3 separate regions of the Homo sapiens genome follow, and all the other regions are linked to region 3. The links are contacts of gene promoters, found by promoter capture Hi-C in human tissues and cell types (Jung and others, 2019). All regions are on one chromosome and are shown on one strand. Each heading gives the region's core, a stretch centred on a gene start or on the middle of the fragment in contact. The rest is flanking DNA. Distances are from core to core; before and after follow the strand shown. Region 1 overlaps NCOR2 (nuclear receptor corepressor 2). Region 2 overlaps MPHOSPH9 (M-phase phosphoprotein 9). Region 3 holds the start of DNAH10OS (dynein axonemal heavy chain 10 opposite strand).

Region 1 (4,579 bases), core at 1,515-4,014, 570 kb after region 3:
CCAGAACAGGCACATCCACGAGGCAGAAAGGAGACTGGTGGCTACCAGGAGGGCAGGGTGAGGCAGGAATGAGGCCTGCTAATGGTTACAGGGTTTTACAGGGCAGTGATGCAAAGGTTTTGAAACTTGATAGAGGAGGCGGGTGTGCAGCACTGCGAATAGGGAAAAAAATAAGCTTTGACTTTTCATCAGCAGGTTTGGAAGTGAATGCCAAAAAAAATGATGACATCATTTCCTCAAAGATGGGGGCAGGAGAGGACGAGGGAGCCCCTCCAGGGTCTCCAGGATCTGGTCCTGGCCAAAGGAGGTTCTGAGGATGGATCCGGGCTGGAGGGGGAATTCAGACACAAACGCCCCATGTCGCCGCTGCGTCTGGCTGCGGTGGGGTCAGAAAGGGTGGGCGGCATTCATTTATTTACATACACACTGTGGTCCCTGCTGAGCCCCGGGCTAGTGCTGGGGACTTCTTGTGAACCCAGCGGGGTCCAGGCCCTGGAGGGTCTCAGGCCAGGGGCTCTGCCCAGCCCTGGGGAGAGCCAGGAGATACGAGGAAGAAGAACTTCCAGAGGGTGAAGGCGAGGGGATGGAGAGTGCTCCAGCTGGAGGCGCCGCTGAGCAAGAGCAGGGAGGTGAGCGCCAGCTGGTGGGGGGTGAGCGCAGGCTTGGGGGTGAGCCCCCGCCAGGCGGTGAGCACAGGCCCAGGGGTGAGCGAGGGCCTGGGGGTGAGCACAGGTGCCGTTTATGTTTGAGAAATTCATTGAGTGAATATGGGGGGAAGTGGGGACAGAGTCATTCAGGGCCCCATGGGCCCGGGTAAGGATGGATTTTGTTCTCAGGGCAGTGGGGAGCCACAGAAGGTGGTTGCGGGGGAGAGTAAAGGGTCAGTGTTTTACGAGCAGGCACTGGGGACAGCAAGAGTGGATCAGGGAGACCTGGGGAGGCTCCTGCAAATGTCCAAGAGAGGGGACACTGGGGGATCAGGGCAACAGCGACAGAGAAGGGGAAATGGGCAGGTGGATGAAAGTCAGGAGGGAGGCTGACTCTGCAGGCCGAGGAAACAGCTCGCTGCAGGAGTCCCGCTGCACAGGCCCGCTGCGAGGACCCTGTGCCTGTGGCATACCGAGAGGTGCCTGGGGAACAGCAGGTGCTCAGCCATGCAGAGTCAGGAGGGTCAGGCCTCCGAGGAGAACAAGACGGTGCCTGGGTGAGGTCAAGGGACTTGTAGATCTCAGGTGGCCGGGATACCCAACGGGGACACCAAGGGCCCAAGCAGGCCTCTGCACATCCAAGCCACCAACCACAGCCCCAGGGCCCCTGCTGGCCCCTGAACCAGCTGGAGGAGGGCTGCAGATCCCACGCAGGCAGGTGGAGGGGCTCCCCATGCACGGCTGCAGGGGTCTGTCCCTGGGCCATGCCTGCCAGGAGGTAGCAAACACACAAGTGCCCCCCGCCCCCACTGCACTCTGCCAGGCAGCAGCAGAAGCCAAGTGGGCCACATTCCCTGTTCCCGGCCACTGCGGGCTTTGGTAAGGTTTCCAAATCCACAGCGGAAAGCTCAGGCCGTGAGCTCTGACTGGCTGTCCGCCTTGCCTCCTGCTGGACCCAGAGCCCCTTCTGGTGCCTGGCACACAGTAGGTGCACACTGAATGACTCTGCCCAGCGGAGGTGCATGCCAGCAACGCAGTGATGCCAGAAACCACCACACCTGTGTCCTCTTCCCACCTGGCCGGGCAGAGGCGCCTTTCCGGGAGGCCCTGGAAGCTTCCATGGGGCCTCCCACCCCTGCATTCCTCTCCAGCTCCGGCAGGATGAGGCCACACCGAGACACATTCCATAGATTTTCTGTGTCTTGAGCGGCCTGGTTCAGACCTGGGGAGGGTGGAATTACAGCCTCAGGGTGAGGGGCAGGCGGGGGCTGGTGGAGGTGTGGGAGCTACAGGATGTGCCCGGAGCGCTCAGCCGCGGGCTGTGGGGAGGATGAAAGGCACGCGGGGCTCTGCGCCGCACGTGCCTGAAATGTTCTGGGAACTAATGGGTGCTGACATTGGAAGAACCTGTGGCAGGTGGGGGAGCCTCGGGATTAAAAACCAACCTGCCAGGCAGAGAGCGCCCACGGCACGAGCGCGCGCGCACGCGCGCACACACACACACACACACACACACACACACACACACACACACACTCGACAGAACCCTCTGATACTCTGAGAAGCCCAAGGCACAAAGCCCCCCTGGGGTGGGCGGAACCACGGCGGGAACACAGGCCGTGCCTCCACTGTCCCAGCCTGGCCCTGCGAAGACAGGCAGGCCCCAGGAGCCCTGCAGCTCAGCCACATACGGCCTCCCTCACCGCTCAGTAGGTATTTGTTCCACTCACTGTGGAATAAGCACCTATTGTGTGACAGCCACCGAGAGGCACGGCACCTGGCACACACGAGGCGTATTAGCGCCCTCGGCTGCCCCACCACAGACTGCATGGCTTCAAGCAACAGAAATGGATTGTCTCACTGTTCTGGAGGCCTCGAGTCCATATCCAGCTGTCATCAGGGCCCCACGGCCTCTGGGGGCTCTGGGGGAGGCCCTTCCTACTTCCTCACTCCTCCAGCTCTGGTGGCCCCGGCAACCCCCGGTGTTCCCTGGCTTGTAGATGCATCGTGCCATCCTCTGCCTCTATCTCCACGCAGCCTTTCCACTGCATCTCCTGTCTCTGTGTCTCCCCTTCTTCTAAGGGCACCCGTCATATTGGATTTGGGGCCCTCCCCTATCCGGTTGTGACCTCATCTTAACTAATGTGATCTGCAAAAACCCTTTCCAAACAAGGCCGCACTCCCAGGTTCCACGCAGACGTACCTTAAGGGAGAACACTACCTACTTCAGGAGGTGCTCCAGAAATACTTGTTTTGTTCACTGCTGTATCCCCAGAGCCCAGCACACAGTAGGCATCTAATAAATATTTACTAAACAAAACCACTGCAGCCAGTCTGGCCCGAGGAGAAGCCGGCCCGGGGGGAACTCTGGGACAGCAGTTCTGGGATGTGCGCACAAGACGCTGCGGAGCGCCAGCTCCACGGGTCGAGCTGTTGACACCTTGGGTGTTTACTTTCTGGCGTGCAGTAAAAACTGGGGAACTGGCCAAGTATCTGATGGCCACCTTCAGCAGGACTCCTGGCGCAGAACGGATGCTCAGGAATCCAGCTCTGGAGTGAGTCCTGAGATGCGGAAAGCCGGTGGGACGTGGCAAGGGTGCACCTCGCCCAGCCCAGTCCAGAGGGGCCCCCACAGCCAATGAGGAAGGGGGTGAAGAGAGAGCTCCTGCTGCCCGGCCTGGTGGCTCACTCTGTCTACCACGATTTGTTAAGCACCTACTGTGTGAAAGGTGCTGGGGATACAGCAGTGAATTACTGATCCCAAATCCCCCACCTCGTGAAGCTGCCATTCCAGCAGGTGAGACGGGAGTAAGAGGATGGCAGAAGGTGTTAGCACGATGGAGAAAAACAGAACCAGGAGGCGGCAGGCAGGGAATGGGGGTACATTTTGAAAGTGGGCAGTCAGGGGTGCGTCACCAGAGGTGCCTTTTATGCAAAGGCGCCGGGGAGAGGAGGGAGTCTACACAGCAGGCACAGCAGGTGCAAAGGCCCAGAGGCAGGACCGAGCCTGGTGTGTGAGGACAGCAGGGAGGCCTGGATGGGGAGAGTGGGGTGAGCGAAGGCATGTGAGGTCACTCTTTCTGGCTATAGCCAGAAAGCTGGGGTGTTCACTGCAAGGGAGCTAGGAAGGACACAGCTGGTGCACTTTAAACAAGGCTGACGTGCGGTCTCCTGTGGCAAGTCTGCCTCTGGCGTCTCTGTGTTCAAAGGACACTGTAGCTGCCCCTGTGTCGAGGAGCACTGGGCACAGGTGTCTGAGTGTGGGGCACAGGTAAAAGGGCCCCTGTAACCCTGAATGATGACAGCCACGATTGTCAGGGCCCTAGAGAAACGGGCCTCCACCCATGCACAGCGGCAGGCCTGCAGGAATGAGGCCAGACTCCTTGGCCCTCACTTGGCAGAAAGGTCATTCCACTCCCTAAGGAAGAGCCAGGTACCCAACCCCAGCCTGTCGTTGGCTCTGCCGGAGGGGCTGAGGGTCAAATACTAAGAGCTCAATCCCGGGTGCCACCCACAAGGGTGCGGTCTGCCCTCCAGCTGAGACCAGGCAAGCCAAACCCATCCCAAACTCCGGTTGCTGACCCATTCTCATCAATTAGAGAATTATTTCAGCATCTGTTATGTGCAAACACTGTACAAGCACAGCTACAGCAGTGACCAAGTCAGACAAAAGGCAAAAGGCCCTGCTGACCACGGCCCACACCCAGTGACAGGTCTGGCCCAACTGGCAGACTCCCCACCCAGGTGCTCAGCAGGGGGTGGCTGGATGGAGGGAGAAGATGGAAGAGGGATAGAGATGGGAGGATGGAGGAGAAAGGAGGAAGGGAGGGAGGAAAGGAGGATGGATGGATGAATGCATGCATGGATAGAGAAAGGAGGAAGGATGCATGGACTGATGGATGGATGGATGGATGATGGATTGATGGATGGAT
Region 2 (4,482 bases), core at 1,172-3,671, 710 kb before region 3:
TAGGGCAGTCCCCCATGATGAAGAATTGTCCTGTGTCCATTTTATGTTATAAAACAATAAATATTTCGCACAGTATTCATAACATCAAAACAAACTTAAGTTTCAAAATCTCATGAGAAGTTGGTCACCCTTTCAGAAAAGCATGTCACCAGTGGAGGTGCTGTACACAATACCTGGATCATCAACACACCATAGCTATATTGATCTGTGTTCAGCTGCTGAATTCACAGTGAGTACATACAGGTAAACATGACTACTTCATTATGTCTTCTAATGAACATGTGCCTGACATGGATATATCCAAATACATGTTATTTTACTGTAAATTTTTTATTTCTCCTTTATGTCACATTTAGGATAGTATATTGATTTTTTAAAGCGGGTAAAGGTAGGTTATATTACCTATGAATTTCATTTCAGGATAATATAAATTGATGTTATTTTGAAAGCTGTTATAAAAACAGAGCTCAGAGGCTGGGCACAGCGGCTCATGCCTGTAATTCTAGCAGTTTGGGAGGCCAAGGTGGGTGGATCATTTGAGTTCATGAGTTCAAGACTAACCTGGGCAACATAGCAAAACCTTGTCTCAACAAAAAATGCAAAAATTAGCTGGGCATGGTGGTGTGCACCTGTAGTCCCAGCTACTTGGGAAGCTGAGGTGGGAGGATGGCTTGAGCCCAAGAGGTTGAAGGTACAGTGAACAGAGATTGTGCCACTGTACTCCAGCCTGGATGACAGAATGAGACCCTATTTCAAAAAAAAAAAAAAAAAGAAAGAAAGAAAAGAGAGAGAATGAAAGAGGAGAAAAAGAAACAAAGAAAAGGAAGGAAGGAAGAAAGGAAGGGAGGGAGGGAGGGGGTGGGAGGGAGGGGAGAGGAGAGGTGGGGCAGGGAATATATTCTGATTCTGACTTAAGATGCTAATGTCAAAAAAAAAAGGTTGATTTCTAATTATCAAAAGTAACAATTTCTAGTTAAACACAAATTTTCCAGAAGTTAAAATACATTGTGGCAATGCCTCCTTTGTCCTAAAGCATGTTAATTCAGTTATCAAAAGCTAATAAGGGCTAGCCACGGTGGCTCATGCCTGTAATCCCAGCACTTTGGGAAGCCAAATCAGGCAGATTACCTGAGGTCAGGAGTTCGAGACCAGCCTGGCCAACATGGCTAAACCCCTTCTCTACTAAAAATACAAGAATTAGCTGGGCATGGTGGCGCTCGCCTGTGATCTCAGCTACTCGGGAGACTGAGGCAGGAGAATCACTTGAACCTGGGAGGCAGTGGTGGCAGTGAGCCGAGATCGCACCATAGCACTCCAGCCTGGGCAACAGAGCAAGACTCTGTCTCAAAAACAAACAAACAAATAAACAAAAAGCTTATGAGTAGATACATTAAGGGAAGCATTTAATATACTTAATAAAACATTCCATTTTTAATTGCATTTGCATGGGCATTTTTAAAGGTCTTTCACGTTAGTGCATACTGATTATTATATGCAAACAAGCATAAAGTATAAAAACTGAAAACTCAATTTTTTAAGCATATAATAATACTTTTTTATAATTTCAATAATTATGGATAATGGATATAAATAATTACACTTAGCAGTTGCTGCTATCGAATTCTTAAACCAGGTAATCTTTCATTTCGCTTACTCTACATTCTGAAAAATAACACAAATTATGCTTCTAAAAGTACAATTAACGTTTAAAACAAGATCTAGTGCTTTCTAAGAATTAATAATGGTTTAAACATTTCTATAAAAAACTATCAAATCCAGCCTTAGGAAAGTCTATCTTGAGCATTATCCTATGAAATAAAATTTATATATACTTTTTTTTTTTTTTACTGAGGGGGTCTTGCTATGTTGCCCAAGCAGGTCACAAACTCTGGGCACAAGCTATCCACCTCTGCCTCAAGTGCTGGGATTACAGGTTCTCTTTTTTTATATATAGAGAGAGACAGGGTCTCAGTCTGTCACCCAGGCTGGAGTGTAGTGCTGTGATCATAGCTCACTGCAACCCTGACTTCCTGGGTTGAAGTGATCCTCCCACATCAGCCTCCCAAGTAGCTAGGACTACAGACACCGTGCCACCATGACCAGCTAATTTATTTATGTATTTATATTTGTAGAGACAGGGTCTCGCTATCTTGCCCAGGCTAGTCTCAAACTCCTGGCCTCAACCAAACCTCCCACCTTGGCCGCCTAAAGTGCTGGGATTACAGGCGTGAGCCACTGTGCTCGGCCATGTAAGTATTCTTTTAACTGTTACATTTTTATATCACAATTTAACCTATGAACCAAAGAAAGAACCACTGATCTGAAAACAATATAATGCAATGTATCACAGCTGAATATGGTAAGGTACTAAATAGAAGCTTCAATTTATAATTAGAACATTGAAAATATTTCAAAGTGGATTTAGGTTTTTCAAAATGATGACAATTCCATATAAGTTACTGACAACATTACAATTAGTAACAATTTTAATAATTTTGGGATTCTCAGGTCTCTGAACCAAGACAATGTTTTAGTTCATATTTAATATACAAATTAGTATGTCTAATCAGTAATATATTGTTAAAAAATACTTTTGATCACCTTTTTCCCATTCATTCAATATCATTCCCAAATTAATATACTTGACCACTTTAGCATTAACTTAAAAGTGTCATGCTCTTCAGGACATAAATTTCTAATAATTTAGAGTTTAGTAGAGGTATGTTTTAACATAATTATTTTAAAATTCCAAAAATAAAACAAAATTAGATACCTCACAGTTTTTCCAAAGTTCCGAATCAGTCTTTCCACTGTTTTGTAGCTCTTGCATTAAAGAAGTTAGGACTTCAACTGTACCTTGAATTACAGATGGTCTGGTCTTCCCTGAGAAAGAGGATACCCCATTTGTACTAAGGTGGGGACTACTTCTGTTGAAACATAAATAATTCAAATGGTTTTCTTCATTCTATCAAAGTGTTGAATAATTCAGCAGTTCAAGATTTAGCAGAGCAGTACAAAACCACTGACATTTAATCCTTCTAATGGCACCTCATTTGTTCAAAATCTGATCACAAGTTGCTCCACAAAAGGAAACGGCCAGTAAAAAGACCGCACTGTACTCTTTTTAAGAACACAACAAGAAGACCTTCTCCAGAAGTGAGAGAACACTCCAAAGGATCGGCAGAAAATAGAAAAAGTCTGTGCTAAACAATAAGATTAATTTCCAGCTTCTCTGATCTCAGCTATTCCAGAGGATTATTTCCCCCAACTTTCAGAACAGCCCTTCATTGTGCAGTGGGGATTCTTTCCCCACTGCCCCAAATGACAGTCAAATCTTGTTCACTGGACACCCTTAATTTGGTACGATAAGCTGATGCTTATCTCTGCACTATCTCTGCATAAAAGTTGTGCCAAGCAAATCAGCAGCAAATATTCAGGACTTATTTAGCCTACTCAGTGTGTAAAACAGCACTGAGTTTTTCCAGGAGTACTGCTTTTCCAAACTTCAGGTAAGTTATTTCGGATTTGTTTTATAAACACACAATATATTTCAGGACATTAAAATGTACTTAAAATCTAGTCACCAAAAGATCATTTTAATTTATTTACTGCTTGATATCCTGCTTTCTTTCACAAATAATTTGTTTAAAAAAATAAATAAAAATAACAATAAAATAATAGTTAGGACCAGTGAAAATATTACTAAAAATTCAAAGGAGGCCAGGCGCAGTGGCTCACGCCTGTAATCCCAGCACTTTGGGAGGCCAAGGCGGGCGGATCACCAGGTCAGGAGATCAAGACTGTCCTGGCCAACATGGTGAAACACCATCTCTACTAAAATACAAAAAATTAGCCGGGTGTGGTAGTGCGTGCCTGTAGTCCCAGCCAATCAGGAGGCTGAGGCAGGGGAATCCCTTGAACCCAGGACACGGAGATCGCAATGAGCTGAGATGGCACCACTGCACCCCAGCCTAGTGACAGAGCAAGACTCCGTCAAAAAAAAAAATTCAAAGGAAAGAATATATGTTATCAGTAAAGGATTTTACATAGCTGTAATAATCAAGTTTAAATGTGGCCAATTTAACTGCCAGTCACAATGAAAAGGAAGACAAGTTTAATTGCCTAATTTTCACTAGCAAGGCACAGTTAGCTTCCTCCAGCCAAATCAAACACTGTTCTAACAGGAATATCTTCTAGAAGTGTACTTTAAAGGGACCACCAAGTAATACAAGAACCAAAATGCGTGGCCAACTTTCTGCAAGTGCATACAGATTACTGTAGGACCATTTCCTGTGCCTTTTAAAATTTCCTTTTCTCGTTTTATTTCACATATTCCTTTGTTTTTTACAACTCCCCACCCCCATTGTTTTATATACCCATGTAAGCTGCCTTAAATTCCTCCTGAAAAGGGCAGAGAATTAACAACTTTTAAAGTAATGTATTTATTTATAATACACAATTTCTTCAAGACCTACCGTGTTT
Region 3 (4,583 bases), core at 52-2,551:
CTCTGAGGGTGGATACGGAAGTTTCTCTTCCACTTTCTCCGTTGAGACCTGGGGTCTATGGCAGGGGAGACCTGAACCATGTTCACTCTGCTAGCTCATGGCAAGTGGGCTCCTAGGTCAGAATTAGCTCTTGCAAAAACCATCAGGTGGCTTTCTTGTAACCCCTGACGGGGCCAGGGGCATGGGAGCCACAGAGCAGCATGGACTAACTTGGTTGGAACTCTTTGATTATGCCAGAACTTCAGGTCCCTTAGACATTGGTTACTGACTGTGCAAATGAGAGCTGGAAACTGCTGTTTCCCCGGGTCCATGTTGTCTTAGAGTTCTTTTAACTGCAAGGAACAAAAGCTCTTTTGAGATGGCTTAAGGACTGGGGACTTACGGTAAAGATGCAGGGACTCTCCAGGTCTCAGTGGCAGGGGAGGTGGCAGGTGTCCGGGCCACCACTCTCTCTGGGGCCACAGGAGTGTGTTCCTCTCTTTGCACATCTGCTGGGTCCTCCTCCCCGGAGACCACTTTCTCTGTGAGGCTTCGACTTCCTGCTCCCCAGCCACTTCGGCTCACAGGGTAGCTGGGGTTGCCATGGTGCCCATTCTGACTCTGGGACCATGCATCTTTCTAGCCTGGGGGCCCAGGGTGGTCTAAGTCCGTGGGCCTTGATGCCCCAGGAATGAGGATTCCTGGGGGAGAGGCCACCGCCCCACACCCATTTCTCTGGGCCATGGGGCAGGGCCACAGGGTCTCCTGTCTGGGCTGCTCCTCCACAGAGGGAAGGTGGGCAGGACAGAAATGCTGGAGAAGGGCCTGGGCTGTCCCCAATGCGCTGGGGAGGAGGCCAGCCAGTGGCCTGTGTGTCGCTGTGTGTGCGCCTGATAGAGCCACTCCGTGGCAGGCTGTGCATGCTCCAGTTGTATCCAGTCTCTGCCTTGTGTCCCTAGGATGCTTTGTCTCAGGACTGTACCTGGAAGGTGCTGACTGGGATATAGAAAAAGGATGTCTTATCAAGAGCAAACCCAAGGTGCTGGTTGTGGACCTGCCGATCCTGAAGATCATCCCCATTGAAGCCCATCGCCTCAAGCTGCAGGTGAAGGTCCCAGCCCCTCCTCTCTGACACCAGGGCCCTTCCTCTTCTGACTGTAGTTATGGCTGAGGTGGTTTCCAACAGTCCTACTTTTTAAAACAGGGGTGCCTAAGCTTTATGGGCTGGGGAGAGTCTTGGAGCCGTGATAAAAGCTACGGATAGCTGCTTCCTGGAAAAGGCGCGGCTGTATGTGTGTGTGGATGCCGGTCCTTCCAGAGGTGTCAGGCTCAAGCTGTGATCCTGTGGTCTAGACTAACCAAGGGGAGACTCCCTCCCTTCTTGCAAAATGCTGCAGACATTGCCTGAGTCATAAAGTGGTTCCCGCTGGTGTGGACAGCAGATGTCTTCTGCTCTGCCTGGGCCAGGACCCACTTTTAACCAGGGTGTCAGTGTGAAGCCAGGTCCCCGTGAAGCTGGCGGAGGGTGGCCCTGAGCAGCCCCAGCCTTGTGCGTGTTCTCAGGTGCAGTCTTGCACAGGGGCCCCTGCCTGTCAAGACTTACACTGCACCTCTGCCTTTATCCCTCTGCACCCTCTCTCCGTGGGGGCATCTCACCTGCCTTTCCCTTGCAGAATACTTTCCGGACCCCCGTCTACACCACCTCCATGAGAAGGAACGCCATGGGAGTCGGCTTGGTTTTTGAAGCTGATCTCTTTACCACGAGGCACATTTCTCACTGGGTGCTGCAAGGAGTATGCCTCACCCTGAATTCTGATTAACCTTTGGGTGAAGAAAACTGCTTAATGAATTCGGAGCCTGGGGTTGTCAGAGTGATCGGGTCTGCTGTCATTTCTTGGGGCCTCTCAAGAGGCAGGAGGGGGACTGACACTGATTTTTCATTTGAAATCAGCCACTTAAATCTCTTTCCATACAAATTAACCTGAATGGTTTTGTTTTTAATACTACTTTTTAAAAGGAATTTATATAATCAAAAAGTAAATATTGGAGAGTATTTTAAGATGTGTGGAGTTTTCTTTTCCTTCTCAGAGAAAACACTTGATTAGGCAAAAGTGCCTGGCATACATAGCATTGGCACAAGTGAGAATCCTAATGTAATTTCCAAAGGTGTGTTTTCGATGATCCAGGTCTGTTTCAGCAGATGCTCCTTTTTGGCAAGAAGGGCTGATGATGTCGGGCACAGAGCAGAAGTGACCAGTCACCTGGAGCCACTTCTCCCCCTTCCAGAACTCTCTGGCCCTAGCTTCTTTGGCTCTGACCTGCTACGGCGACTGTGAAGTTGTTGAGCTTAGTGTTTAGTTCCTGCATGAGCTTCTACCCCCAGCCTGCCTGGGTCTGTGTGGGGTCAGGTAAGGACACAGAACCTCCAGGACCAGTGGTCACTGGGCACCCCTTCCCTCTGTGCACCATGAGGCTGGCCTGGAGCCCTGGCTGGCCACCTGGAGGTGAGGGGTGGCTTCACTCCATGAGGGAGGAGAGGGGCTAGCACGGGCAGCACAGTGGGCAGGGGCCATCAGAGGCAAAAGCAGCTTCCCACAGAAGCTCAGGAGCGCAGCACATTCTAAGGACTAGCTCTGGGCCGGGAGGAGGCCGGAGTCGCTTCTGGGACCTGTGATTGCTCTCCCTCCTGCAGTCTCCTAGCCCTCCTTCAGGTGTTTGTTTAATAAAAGACACAAAACAGAAGGAAGGCAGGTTTAGAAAATAAAGTTTGTTGGGATCTTAAACATTTTGGATAAAACTAACAAAAAAATATGAACACACATTCAGGTTGTGGTGCTATGAGGAGTAGCGTCATCTTATTTAGTTCCTTGAGATACACGCACGGCTGCTCGGTGATCGGTGCCGCCCTGGGAAAGGTTGGTCAGGAGGTGACAGGGGTCTCCAGGAGGAGCTCGGGAGGTGACAAGGGTCTCCAGGAGGGAGCAGGGGCTGCTCGGCCAGGCTGCCCTGGAGCTTGAGGATAAGGTCAAGGTTGGTATGTGTTGCTCCGACTTGAGAATGAATTAGGTGTGTGACTGTGTGGCATCGTGAACATCAGTAGTGACGCAGCCGTGGCCTGGGCTTTGCCTGCAGCGCACTTAGGTTACACGGAGCGGGATCAGAAGCAAGCGATTCGGCACACAGGCGTTTGGCCACAGCAATTAGGAAATACATATTCTGCGGCAGGGACACGATCATATTTTGGTGTGAAGAAGAGGGCAAGAGAAGCAGAAGGAGAATGGGTCGGTAGGTGTGAAAAGTGTTTGGCATGCATGGGATTAAACAGAAAAGGTGTGGCTGAGATTTCCCAGTGGTGCTCACAGTGCATGGACAGCGCGGGGTGGGGCACGGCGGGCTTCACACAGTTCTGTCCGTCCCTGAGTGCTTCCTCACCACCTTGCCTCCGTTCACCTGGTCGACCGCCAGGGTCTTCACCTCGGGCTGGGCCTGCGGCGGGGTGGCGTGGTGGATCCGATGTGCCACCCCGACGTGGGCCTTGTGCGGCTTTTCGCGGGCCGGGCTGTGCTGCTCGCCGCTTCGGTCGGAGGCGATGGGGGGGATGACGAGGGGCCTCTCTTTGATGAGGTGGACCTCGGCGGACTCCCTAGCCAGCAGAAATGGGGTGGGGTCGGGCATAGCATCCACTGGTTCCCGCAAAAGGAGTTTCCTGCTCTCTGCCCCGAATCTGTAGACCTCTTCAAATTCCGGGTGCAAGGGGGCTGAGAGGCTCTTTTTCATGCGGCGGCGAGGCGTTTCGGGTAGCTTGTCTTTGGGGGGCGCTGGCTTGTAGCTGGCCAGCACGGGGCTCCCTGACGGGCTGGCATCTGAGGTCCCGCTGGAGCTCATGAGCTTCTTCTTGGCGGCGTGCAGCTGGGAGGTCAGGTAGGCGATGGTGCTGGCCCGCTGCTCCAGCTCGCTAGACAGCAGGGTCAGCTTGTGACTCTTGGCCTTCAGCTCCTCCAGGTACTTCTTCTCTCGCTCCTTGATGGTGTTCTCCAGCACTGTGATCATCGCGTTTTTCTGCTCCAGTTCTTTCAACAACTCAGCATTTTCGTTCTCTTTCACTTTCAGTTGGGCTTCCAGCTCTTCACATCTTTTCTTTAATTCACTGCTTTTAGAAGTCCCGTCTCCTACAAGAATAAGCCGAGGAAGCAGGTGAAGAACTCATTAGACTGAGGCCGAGTGGTGAGGCCTATGGGGCAGGCGGACCTGTCTGGTGGGGGCCCTGTCTAGGCTGTGGGGGCCATGCAGAAGGCAGGGCTGTGGGGGCTCTGGAAAGACCCCTCCCCTCCCCGAGGTGGGGAGATCGGGGCATCTCAGAGGCCCTTTCCGGCTCTTAGTTCTCTGGCCTACTGCATAAAAGAATGTCTCTGAACCTTAAAGATGCTGAACTTAAAACAGGCAATTGCAGAGTATCAGACCTCAGCAAACACTTAGGATTCAACTGGCCGCAAATCCCTCTGTCTGCTCAGATGGCATTTATGGAATGCCTGCTACATTCAAAGTACTGTTTTGAAACTCAAATGTAAAAAGAATTATCCATGTCTATTGAATTAAAATTCTGA

The links. Contacts are between HindIII fragments. The study calls those that stand out against the background at their distance.
Region 1: a contact is called between a fragment that was not itself captured here and the fragment with the promoter of DNAH10OS in region 3, in 3 of the 25 tissues and cell types used here (dorsolateral prefrontal cortex, pancreas and spleen).
Region 2: a contact is called between a fragment that was not itself captured here and the fragment with the promoter of DNAH10OS in region 3, in 1 of the 25 tissues and cell types used here (dorsolateral prefrontal cortex).

The regions. Positions count from the first base shown.
Region 1 is chr12:124,498,925-124,503,503 of GRCh38, forward strand. All of the region lies in intron 2 of NCOR2 (nuclear receptor corepressor 2), which reads right to left. Among named protein-coding and RNA genes, the nearest start is that of NCOR2, 66 kb to the right of the region's middle. The HindIII fragment of the contact is 6,725 bases long and covers 1-4,579 here.
Region 2 is chr12:123,224,690-123,229,171 of GRCh38, forward strand. MPHOSPH9 (M-phase phosphoprotein 9) reads right to left here. Exons shown (of 24, transcript NM_022782.4): 3 at 2,774-2,927. Among named protein-coding and RNA genes, the nearest start is that of MPHOSPH9, 6.2 kb to the right of the region's middle. The HindIII fragment of the contact is 6,998 bases long and covers 1-4,482 here.
Region 3 is chr12:123,933,683-123,938,265 of GRCh38, forward strand. DNAH10OS (dynein axonemal heavy chain 10 opposite strand) reads right to left here and starts at 1,302. Exons shown (of 2, transcript NR_187476.1): 1 at 383-1,302. It overlaps DNAH10 (dynein axonemal heavy chain 10), which reads left to right. Exons shown (of 79, transcript NM_001372106.1): 78 at 939-1,084; 79 at 1,653-2,032. The coding sequence ends at 1,799. It overlaps CCDC92 (coiled-coil domain containing 92), which reads right to left. Exons shown (of 5, transcript NM_025140.3): 5 at 1,944-4,148. The coding sequence ends at 3,376. RefSeq lists an enhancer at 4,367-4,583. The HindIII fragment of the contact is 2,982 bases long and covers 258-3,239 here.